Regions from separate parts of the Homo sapiens genome. Here region 1 is linked to region 2. The links are contacts of gene promoters, found by promoter capture Hi-C in blood cells and fetal thymus (Javierre and others, 2016). All regions are on one chromosome and are shown on one strand. The core of a region is centred on a gene start or on the middle of the fragment in contact, and the rest is flanking DNA. Distances in the headings are between cores, read along the strand shown. Region 1 overlaps PVR (PVR cell adhesion molecule). Region 2 holds the start of SMG9 (SMG9 nonsense mediated mRNA decay factor).

Region 1 (5,858 bases), core at 90-2,589, 900 kb after region 2:
CTGCCCTGGCTCCTCTAGCGGCTGTCTGCACGGATACCTGACACTCTGTTGACTCCCTTGAGCACAGTCTACACTGCCCCTAAACTGCCTACACCCATTTCCCCAGGCAAGTATCCACAATGACCCTCCCCACATTGCTACACTGGTTCTTCTGGCCACGATCAACACTGCCTCCCTTATTGTCTACACCCACTCCCTTGTCCTTTTCTTTCTTTCCTTTTTTTTTTTTTTTTTTTGAAATAGAGTCTCACTCTGTTACCCAGGCTGCAGTACAGTGGCATGTTCTCGGCTCACTGTAACCTCTGCCTCCCAAATTCAGGTGGTTCTCCTACCTCAGCCTCCCAAATAGCTGGGATTAAAGGTGCACACCACCACACCTGGCTAATTTTTGTATTTTTAGTAGAGACAGGGTTTCATCATGTTGGCCAGGCTGGTTTCGAACTCCTGACCTCAGGTGATCGGCCTGCCTCAGCCTCCCAAAGTATGCTGGAATTATAGGCATGAGCCACTGTGCCCGGCTTTTTGTTTTGTTTTGTTTTTCCTTTGGACAGGGTCTCGCTCTGTCACCCAGGCTGGAGTGTAGGGGCATGATCATGGTTCCTACAGCCTCACCCTTCCAGGCTCAAGCAATCCTTCTCCCTCAGCCTCCCAAGTAACTGGGACTACAGGTGCAGCCACCATGCCCGGCTAATTTTACAGTTTTTTTCTAGAGAGAGTTTTGCTGTGTTGCCCAGGCTGGTCTCAAACTCCTAGGCTTAAGTGATCCTCCCGCCTCAGTCTCCCGAAGTGCTGAGATTACAGGCGTGAGCCACTGCACCTGGCCCCTTGTCCATTTTCTACACTGCCTTACCATTGTCTACACTGGCTCTCCTGGGCCACAGACAGCACTAACCCCATTGTCTACACCACCTATTTTGGCCACCAGCTGTGGGGTGTTTTCACTGTCTCCCATAGTGTCTACACTGGCTCCTATGACCACTGTCTATGTAAACACCCCACTTTTTCTACACTGGTTCTCCTAGGCACTCTCTAAAGTGCCCCCTGACACTGTCTACACTGACTCCCTGGAGAACTGTCTGCATTCACCTCCCACATTGTATCGACCAGTTCCCCTGAGCCACGATCAACTGTCTCCGCCGGGTGCTAGTTGCATTGATCTTCTCACATTGTTTGTGCTGGCTCCCCTAAGCAGTGTCTGCAGAGTCCCCCAGTGTAGTCTCCATGTTCCTCTGCCCAATATTGTCTACACTGGCTCATCTACAGGCTATCCAGTCTCACCCCACATCACCACACTGGCCTCCTTGTGTTCTGTCTGCACAGCCCCCTGACAGCATCTGTCCTGATTCTCCTGCACAGCGTTACCTCCACCAGCTCCCTCATGGCATCATCGACATTGACACCCACACATTTATCTCCACTGACAGCCCCAGGACTCTCTAACCAGTGCTGTCTAACAGAAATAGCATGCAAGCTGCATATAGGATTTTAAATTCTCCAGCGGCCACCCCATTAAAAAATTAAAAGAAAGAGGCCAGGCACGGTGGCTCACGCCTGTAATCCCAGCACTTTGGGAGGCCGAGGCAGGTGGATCACCTGAGGTCAGGCATTCAAGACCAGCCTGATCAATGTGGTGAAACTCTGTCTTCACTAAAAAATACAAAAATTAGCCAGGCACGGTGGCGGGTGCCTGTAATCCCAGCTACTCGGGAGACTGAGGCAGGAGAATCACTTGAACCTGGGAGGCGGAGATTGCAATGAGCGAGATTACGCCATTGCACTCCAGCCTGGGCAGCAGAGCAAAACTCCATCTCAAAAACAAGAAAAGAAAGAGATGAAATTTATTTGTTTATTTATTTATCTATTTATTTATTTGAGACGGGGTCTTACTCTGTCACCCAGACTGGAGTGCAGTGGCACAGCTCCCTGCAGCCTCAACCTCCTGGGCTTAAGTGATCCTCCCACCTCAGCCTCAGTCTCCTGAGTAGCTGGGACTACAGGCGTGTGACACCATGCCTAGCTAATTTTTGTTTTTGTTTTTGTTTTTGTTTTTTTGTTTTGTGATGAAGTCTTGCTCTGTCACCCAGGCTAGAGTGCAGTGGCACGATCTCAACTCACTGCAGCCTCCGCCTCTCGGGTTCAAGTGATTCTCCTGCCTCAGCCTCCCGAGTAGCTGGGATTACAAGCCCTGGCCACAGTGCCCAGCTAATTTTTGTATTTGTGGTAGAGACGGGATTTCACCATGTTGGCCAGGCTGGTCTCAAACTCCTGACCTCGTGATCCACCCACCTTGGCCTCCCAAATTGCTGGGATTACAGACGTGAGCCACCGCACCCGGCCTATTTTTATTTTTTCTGGAGACAGGATCTCCCTATGTTGCCCAGGCTGGTCTCAAACTCCTGGGCTCAAGTGATCCTCCTGCCTCAACCTCCCAAGGTACTGGGATTACAGGCATGAGCCACTGTGCCTGGCCAAAATTAATTTTTAATAATTGCCTTTACTTAACCCAATATACCTAAAATATTATTTCAACTTGTAATTGTTTTTTTAAAATTATTCTTGAGATCTTTCCCATTTATTTTGTCCTAGTAAAGCCTTTGAAATCTGGTGTGTATTTCGGCCTGGCTATATTTCGAGTGCTCAGTAGTCACATGTGGCCAGTAGGTGCCATATTGGACAGCACAGATCTAGACTAAGCTCCCACATCATCTACACTGGCTCATCCAAATACTGTCTACACACATACACAGAGCCTGTCTTAATTTCGTCAGCTCCCGGGGACACACTGTATATGTGGGGGTGATCTCACCCCCACCACCACATTTTCAACACTGGCCCGACAATATAGCATCTGCTGTAATATTCCAACACCCTGTCTACACTGAACCCATCAGTAATATCCACACAAGCTCTTCTAGACATCATTCATACTGTTCCTCCCACCATTGTCTATACTGCTTACTCCCCGCCAGGCAATTGGTACACAGATTCCCTCAGGTACTGTCTATACTGGAGTCCCTCAACACTGTCACTGGGTCTGAGCGAGGAGGAGATCTACACTGACTCCTACCCCTCGCCCCCGAATAAAACCCTGTCCCATTGGCCTGCCCCCAAGGACATTGAAAGGTCTTCGCTGTCAATCACGTATGGGATGGCTGAGCAGCAGCCTAGAGCAGGGTTATCTGGGACTCTTTCCTGCAGGACTTGTCAGAACCTTGAATACACTGCTGTGTGTTGTGAGTGGTCATTGCCTATGAGTGAGAAAAGGAGGAGGCATTTTCCTGCAGGACACCCAAGACATGCCTGGTCCAGGCTACCCAGGAAAGCTAGTGGAGAAAAGCAGCTCCTCAGAAGCCTTCTCCATGTCCCCACTGACCAAGGACTCCTAGGCTTCTGCTCTCTGTGGCACCCCATCTACCTAGACTCCTCCTAGGCCTCTCCAGCTCCCGCTGTTTTCCAAATATCCCCGGGCCTTTTCCTGCAGTGTCGTGAATCCCGCGTAGCCCCAGGCCCCCCAAAGCCTCCCAGTCTCTGAACCTCTGTATCCATTTCCTGCAGACCCCCCAGAGGTATCCATCTCTGGCTATGATAACAACTGGTACCTTGGCCAGAATGAGGCCACCCTGACCTGCGATGCTCGCAGCAACCCAGAGCCCACAGGCTATAATTGGAGCACGTGAGTCCTGGGTCTCAGGGAGGAGGGGCTGGGGGTCTGGATTTCTAGCACTGAGGGAGGAGGGGCTGGGGGCCTGGACTCCTGGGACTGAGGGAGAAGGGGCTGGGGGCCCGGACCCCTGGGTCTGAGGGACGAGAGGCTGGGAGCCCGGACTCCTGGGTCTGAGGGAAGAGGGGCTGGGGGTCTGGACCCCTGGGACTGAGAGAGGAGGGGCTGGGCCTGGACCCCTGGGTCTGAGGGAGGAGGGGCTGGGGGGTCTGGACCCCTGGGTCTGAGGGAGGAGAAGCTGGGAGCCTGGACCCCTGGGTCTGAGGCAGGACAGACTGGGGCCTGGACTCCTGGTCTAAGAGAGGAGGGAGATTCAGAAAAGAGAAAAAGAGGAGGTTGACTTCGGGCCCCCAGTGGGGGGCATCTCTGTTTTGACATCTCTGTTTTGCGGTTGAGGCGTTTAGCAGGTGGTTGAATCCTGGCTGGTGGATGCACCTGCTTTTTGGGGTGTGCCTGCTCTGTGCCCGGTACTTCCCCCGAATCCCATGTGACCCCATGCTGTGCACAGTCAGCAGCTGTTGCCCTGCCCAGGTTAAAGACCAGCCACGAGAGGGCAGAAGCGGCCCTTGAATCAGCGCTCGGCTCCAAAGCTGGTCCTCCGCCTCTTGGCCAAGCTTGTCTAACCTGCAGGCCACATCATTTGTAAACTTTCTTAAAACATTATGAGACTTTTTTTTTGCGAATTTTTTTAGCTCATTAGCTATTGTTAGTGTTAGTGTATTTTATGTATGGCCCAGGACAGTTCTTCTTCTTCCAATGTGGCCCGGGGAAGCCAAAAGATTGGACACCCCCACTCTAGACTGTAACCACCTCACCGTCACCTTGTGTAACCTACTTGGTTATCTCTGGATGGAGCAAGTACTATATATCCCCATTGTCTAGATGAGAAAGTTGAGGCTCACAGCAATAAGATTTCCCCAGATTCACACTGAGGCTGAGATCAAGAGCAAGGTAAGAAAAAGGCAAAGAGATAATACATAATTTTATAATACATAATTTTACATAAATTACATAATTTTACTGAACCGCCCTTTTTTTTTAAAGAAGGGGCTCTGTTGCCGAGGCTGGAGTGCAGTGGCGTGATCATAGCTCACTGCAGCCTGGACCTCCCTGGGCTCAGGTGATCCTCCCACCTCAGCCTCCTGAGTAGCTGGGACTACAGGCACACGCCACCACACTCAGCTAATTTTGTTGTATTTTTTTTGCAGAGACAGGGTTTTGCCACATTGCCCAGGCTGGTCTGCAACTCCTGGGCTCAAGCAATCAACCCACCTCAGCCTCCTAAAGTGCTGGGATTACAGGCGTGAGCCACCTCGCCCAGCCTTAGGTCTTTTTCCTTATTACAAAAATAACTTGTGTCCACTGTAGAAATATCAAACAATTTAGTTATGAGCAAAAAGAAGAAAGTAGTGCCTATAGTTCAAGTGTACCCAGCCACCTCCAGAAATACCCAGTGACCCCTTATTATACATCCTGTCTTTTTTCTCTCTGTTTCTAAACAAAGACTGGAATTATGCTGTACATATAATTTTGAACCTTTTCGTCTGTCTTGTGAATACCTTTCCATGTCAAAGCACATAGATCCACAACTCCATTTTCCCCCACGTTGTATTAGGAAGACTGTCAAACATACAGAAAAATCATAGGAATTTTCCAGTGAACACTTAAGATTCCACCACGTGGATTCCCCTGCTAACATTTTACTGTGCTTGCTTTATCACGTTTCTGTGATTCCTTCAGTCCCTCTATTCATCCATCAATCATATTATGCATTTCAGAGCACCCCCAGCTCTCCTGCTTTTTTTTTTTTTTTTTTTTTTTTGAGGCAGGGCCTCACTCTGTTGCTCAGGCTGTAGTGCCGTGGCACAATCACAGCTCACTGCAGCCTTGAATTCCTGGGCTCAAGCGATCCTCCAGCTTCAGCCTCCCAGATAGCTGGGACTACAGGCACACACCACCACGCCTGGCTAACCTGGCCCCTTTTTTAGTGTTGCTGGGATTCCACCACTTTAAAAAAAAAATTCAAAGAATAGAGACAGGATCTCACTATGTTGCCCAGGCTGGTCTTGAACTCCTGTACTCAAGCAGTCATCTCACCTGGGCCTCCCAAAGGGCAGGGAAGGGATTCCAACATATG
Region 2 (6,016 bases), core at 2,496-4,995:
TCCACCTCACAGATTCAAGCAATTCTCCTGCCTCAGTCTCCTGAGAAGCTGGGATTACAGATGCCCACCACCACACCCGACTAATTTTTTTTGTATTTTTAGTAGAGATGGGGTTTCACCATGTTGGCCAGGCTGGTCTCAAACTCCTGACCTCAGGCAATCCACCTGCCTCAGCCTCCCAAAGGGCTGGGATTATAGGCGTGAGCCACCATGCCCGGCCAAGGCCCTTCCTTTCAACAGAGCTCTGGGCCTGTGGTAGCAACTGCAAGCTGGTTCCCAACATCCACTCCTGACTTCTTCCAAAAAAGTAAAACCCTCAGTTCTGAGCTAGGTACATGGCTATCCAGAACAAACTTCTCATCCTTGTTTGCAGTTAGGTGTGGCCATGTGAGTAAGTACTTTCTGGCTATGGTATGACACTAGAAGTGTGGCTTGGCAGCTTCCAGAAACTTCCCTTCACAGACTCTGGCACATGCCTTCTGCCCCTTCCTCCCAGTGACAGGAATGTGGGTGTGGAGGTTGGAGCTCAAGCAGCTATCCTGGGCTGTAAGGCAATTTAATGGAAGGTACAATAAAACAAGACACAAGGTTGGGGGGTTCCACGTTAACCTTGAATTGCCTACTTCGAGAGGCAGTGAAAAACAAATACACATCTATCTCTTACTTGCAGCCAAAACTATTCCCAACTATTAAAATGCTCCAACATAAATAAACTCACAGGGGCAAGTTCACATAAAAATAGGATATTCTCCTTACCAAAATGCAGCAAGGCATTTGCTTACAAACCAGCAATGTGATCCTCAGTCCAACAGCTACTCTTGATTAGTCATTACTAGTGTATGTCATGGTGGGGCTCCAGCCACTTACTAGTGTATGTCATGGTGAGGTTCCAACACTCAAGGGCCTATTTTCACCTGGTATCCCACTACATTTCAGTGTCTGTCTGTCTTCCGTTCCTGACGGTCTGCCTTCCCTCACAGTGAATTTCATTTCAAGGTGTCTCCAGTGTTTATTCTATTTGAGATGTTATATAATGTCTGGCTACCTATGCAACCCACTCTCCACCATTTCAGTATCTGTTTACAGGTCCTTAGAGAGTTTTCCCAGCTGTTCACACATCAGTCTAGGGTGGTATTTGACTACTTAACTGTTTGTAGAACTCAGTGGGGCTATCTGCTCAAGCTCAGAAGTCAGGTTGACAAAGTGTGGCCTAGGGGCCAAATCTGGTCTGCTTTCTGTTTTTGTAAATAGAAAGTTTTATCGGAACATGGCCACATCCATCAATTTAGAAACTGTCTGTGGCTGCCTTCTTGATGCAATGGCAGAGCTGAGACAGACAATACAGTCTGCAGGGCCTAAAATAATTATTCTCTGGCCTTAACAGAAAGTTTTACTGAATGGCCGAGTATGGTGGCTCACACCTGTAATCCCGACACTTTGGGAGGCCGAGACAGGAGGACTGCTTCAGCCCAGGAGTTCGAGACCAGCTTGGGCAACATAGCAAGATCCTGTCTCTATATAACATTTAAAAAAGAAAAAAGTAGCTGGGCGTGGTGACATGCACCTGTAGTCCCAGCTACTTGGGAGGCTGAGGTGGTGGGATCACTTGAGCCTGGGAGGTCAAGGCTGCCATGATCATGCTGCACCACTGCACTCTAGCCTGGGTAACAAAGCAAGACCCTGTCTAAAAAAAAAAAAAAGCAGAACCCTGTCTCAAAAAAACAGTTTGCTGACCCTTGCTTAGCTTGGAAGTATCTGTTAAATCCCTCCATGAATCCTCCCCTGCCCCACCTCATAATGACATAAACAGGTCCCTCCGAGACTCTCCAGAATGGAAGGGTCTGTTTACAAGATGCAGTCATAATTTTGCTAGCCAGACAAGTGGCTTGTCTAGCTCCTCTCCTACTGTGCTACATGACCTCTCCCAGAGCCACAAGCCAGGCTGAAGACTGCTTTCCTAGACAGAGGAGGACAAGGGCCTGTTTACAGCTGCTTAGGGAAAATGACTCATTCCATACCGAAATGACTGCTTAGTCTGGGATGGAGATTCTCCCCAGAATCTGAGACTCCTCCCTCACTTGCAATTAAGTGTCTTTACACATTATTCTGAAATCTACCCAGTGCTTAAGTACTTGTCTTCATGCCTCAATTGGGATACTGCCCAGCCCTGAGGTTTCTGTTTACTGGCCTATGAGGATGCCCTTTCCTGTGCAAAGTAAGCGCCCCTGTGTGAATGCTTTTCTTTTTTTTTTTTTTTTTTTTTTGAGACGGTCTTGCTCTGTTGCCCAGGCTGGAGTGCAGTGGCACGATCTCAGCTGGCTGCGGCCTCTGCCTCCCGGGTTCAGGCAATTCTCCTGCCTCAGCCTCCCAAGTAGGTGGGATTACAGGTGCATACCACCAGGCCGGGCTAAGTTTTGCATTTTCAGTAGAGACGGGGTTTCGCCATGTTGGCCAGGCTGGTATCGAACTCCTGGCCTCAAGTGATTCGCCAGCCTCGGTCTCCCAAAGTGATCGGATTCCCCGGGTAAGCCACCGCACCTGGCCTCCCTGTGCCCTTTATTCTGGGAGCTTCCACAGTATCTGAATGTGGGGAGTTCCTTGGAACTTAAAAGCCCACCTAAACCAGGTGTGGAGGATACAGTGAGCCGAGATCGTGCCACTGCACTCCAGCCTGGGCGACAGAGCGAGACTCTTGTCTCAAAGAAAAAAAAAAAAAACCCCACCCACATGCAAGCTGGGGACTTCCAATGCTGTTTCCGGGCTCCTTTGGGGATTACCCCCAAACTTAGGAAAGCTGGTCTATTTAAGTGTCTGCTGATGGACTTCTAGGGTGACTTCCCGAAAATTAACAAATCGAATTTACATATTTTTGGGGAGTGTCTCCTCAGTATTTAGGCATCGCTTCACACACTCCCTTCGGGGATCTCCCAGAACCTCACTATTTGCAAATATTTGGGGAGACTCTCCCGATTCCTGAGTATGTAAGCCCACTTCGTGGGGCACTCCCCAGCCCAGAACTGTAGTCGATTTGCACATTTTCCTAAGGACTCCCTAGGATTTAAACTTCTCTCTACGGGGTTCTAGAAGGGAGCCTCCCCCGGATTTAGGCATTGCTTTACAAAGCTTCCCTCGGGGAACCCAACTCAAGTTTCTCGTTACACGTTATTGGGGCGGCCTCCCCAGTACTTGACGGGCAGTTTGCAGGCTGTACTTGGATCTCGCAGAGCATAAGTTTCTCATTTACACGTTATTTCCGTCCCCCGCCCCCATTCCTGCCAACCCAGTATCGAATTGACGGTCGCCGGCCCCCTACTCAGTGCCGCACCCCCGCCGGACGTCCCAGCGACCTTTCAATGGCCAAGGCGGGGGCGGGGCCTGCCGGAGCGCCCCGCCCGCCGCCGGTGCGCTAGCCTCGCGCGGGCTCGCGGCCCCCTTACCTAACGCGGCTGCTGATTGGTTCTCGGGGCGCGGTGTGCGCTCTCCCGTGACGGGAGTCGGGTGGGGGCGGGGAGGCTGACCCAAGCCACCCGCCTGCAAATGGCGTCTGGGGGCCAGGAACGTGGGAAGGAGAGAAAATGGGCACTCCCCACTCCGAAACCGGCCTCGGCGTCCGGGTTGCAGCCCCTAAGGAAAGCTGGGCCGAAGGAAGAAGAGGAGGAGGATGTAACGCGGGCCCGAGCTGAGATCAGTTCCCTCAGGCGACTCGTCCTGCGCATGCGCTGAGGGCTGGAGCTCGAGAACTGAATGCGCTCGCCGGGCTGAGCGTGCGTGGATGGAGGCGGTCGGCTTCAGCACGCATGCGGGTTCCGGAGCGGGAGGCGGGAGGACGCCGCGGCTCTGACTCAATGCGCGTGCGCGCGGTTGGGGGGTTGAGGGTGGGGAGATGAGTAGGGAAATGGATACGCCGAGGAGCCGGCAGGAGGGAGAGCGGCCCGGATCTGGGGTTCGAGTTGTGCCTCTTCGGTGATGTTGGCGGGATGCAGTGGGGTGGGACGACAGGGAGGAATTTCACTGTTCTGGGCTGAGTGCCAAGAACACATGAATGAATCAGACTTGGCGTGCGCCCTGGAAGACACCCCGGCCTGTGGAGAGACTGCCAGGGCCTCAAATCACTTAGGAAAGGGCGCGGGTCCGGTTGGACCTTGAAGGACAGGCAGGCGAGGGTACTCCAGGGAACAGCTAAGCAAAGGCGGCGAAGACCCCGGGGGAAGAGGTCTAGACTGGCTTGGATTCAGGGTCCACCTGGGTGGGAGGTGAGGCAGCAGAATGGGCAGGTCAGACCCTGAAGGGTCTCCAGTGTCAGTTTTATCCTTAAGGCCTGGGAGATGCAGAATAGTCTGAGACAGAACTATGTTTAAAACCCTCGAAGGCCGCGTTGGAGAAGGGAATCCGCTCCAGGGTCGAAAATTTAAACACACGTGGGCGGAGTCTTGCGCGCGCCAAAGAGGAACATTGGGCGACGGGCGCGGCCTGGAGAGCGCATGCGCATTCGGAAGGGTCGGCAGTTCCCCAGTGGGCAGAGTGGGTGGATGGGAAGGTTCTAGCTTTTTATTTGAAATTTTATTTATTTTTATTTTATTTATTTATTTAGAGACGGAGTCTCGCCCTGTCACCCAGGCTGGCGTGCAGTGGCGAGATCTCGGATCACTGCCGTCTCCACCTCCTGAAATTCAAGCGATTCTCCTGCCTCAGCCTCCCAAATAGCTGGGATTACAGGCGTCCACCACGCCTGGCTAATTTTTTGTATTTTTAGTAGAGACTGGGTTTTGCCATGTTGGCCAGGCTGGTCTCGAACTCCTGACCTCAAGTGATCCGCCCGCCTCGGCCTCCTAAAGTGCTAGGATGACAGGCGTGAGCCACCGTGGCTGGTCTAAAAAAAAGTTTTTTAAAATTATATTTGAACAGGTATTACATGTACATACACAATTCAAACCTCTCTGGCTGTATACAATAAAAGTAAGTTTCCACCTCTGGTTCCCATTTTCCTTTCCTAAAGCACTGGTTCCCGGTTTCCTTCTGGAGCTGCTGTTATAATAAAGCATTGGAGTTAAGAGCATGTGTTGAGTTCATATAAATAGCGGCTGAGCTTGACCAAGTGACTTAATACTCTCTACTTCTACGTCCCTGTTTGTGAATTGGGTGTGGTATAACCTTACTTACAACATTGCCGCCAGCATTAAATGGGTGAGAGTGCATAGAACAGTGCCTGTTGCCTAATGGTACTGTGTGTTGTCTCTGTGTATTATTTTGTGGTCTACCATGCTGATAGTTGTAGATTCTGAGCAGCCCTCTCCCCTCCAGGCCTCATCCCTACTGTCATTGTCCCAGTACCAGTACCAGGTGGAGCCACCTCTCCAGGCTGCCACAGGTAGAAACACCAGTCACCCAGAATGACTTGAGTCCACTGTTGATGGATTCTGGGGAAAGATTCTGGGTGTTTGATAAAGATACACATGACAGGCCATCTCTGTATTATGTCTATCAGTGTCCAATTTTACTTCTTCAGCTCAGGCCATATCTGAATTTCTCAACCCCAGATCACTCACGATTGCCAGTTTCACGTCAGGGCAACCCTCAGAGGTAGAATTTTCTTAAAAGAGGGAAAGAGGAGGCCTGGCATTGACCTTGGACCCACTGTGTACCAGGCTGTGTGCTCTCTGCTTTATATACATCACTATAATCTTCTCCCCTAATTTGTTTAACAGATGTTGGTCCGCGCAGTGACTCACGCTTGTAATCTCAGCACTTTGGGAGGCCGAGGCAGGCAGATCACCTGAGGTCAGGAGTTCAAGACCAGCCTGGCCAACATAGCGAAACCCCATCTCTACTAAAAGTACAAAAATTAGCCGGGTGTGGTGGCATGCGCCTGTAATGCCAGCTGCTCGGGAGGCCGAGGCACGAGAATCACTTGAACCCAGGAGGTGGAGGTTGCAGTGAGCTGATATCGCACCACTGCACTCCAGCCTGGGTGACAGAGTAAGGCTCTGTCTCAAAAAAAAAAAAAAAAAAAAAAAAA

Evidence for each region. Contacts are between HindIII fragments. The CHiCAGO score rates a contact against its expected background, and 5 or more counts as called.
Region 1: a fragment that was not itself captured here is called in contact with the fragment with the promoter of SMG9 in region 2 in 1 of 17 cell types (fetal thymus); the score reaches 5.3 in fetal thymus.

Annotation. Positions count from the first base shown.
Region 1 is chr19:44,650,345-44,656,202 of GRCh38, forward strand. PVR (PVR cell adhesion molecule) reads left to right here. Exons shown (of 8, transcript NM_006505.5): 4 at 3,556-3,673. It overlaps MIR4531 (microRNA 4531), which reads right to left and starts at 3,388; the gene lies at 3,342-3,388. RefSeq lists an enhancer at 4,359-4,418. The HindIII fragment of the contact is 5,987 bases long and covers 1-4,333 here.
Region 2 is chr19:43,751,217-43,757,232 of GRCh38, forward strand. SMG9 (SMG9 nonsense mediated mRNA decay factor) reads right to left here and starts at 3,746. Exons shown (of 14, transcript NM_019108.4): 1 at 3,438-3,746. RefSeq lists an enhancer at 2,677-2,936 and a silencer at 3,167-3,526. The HindIII fragment of the contact is 6,293 bases long and covers 3,122-6,016 here.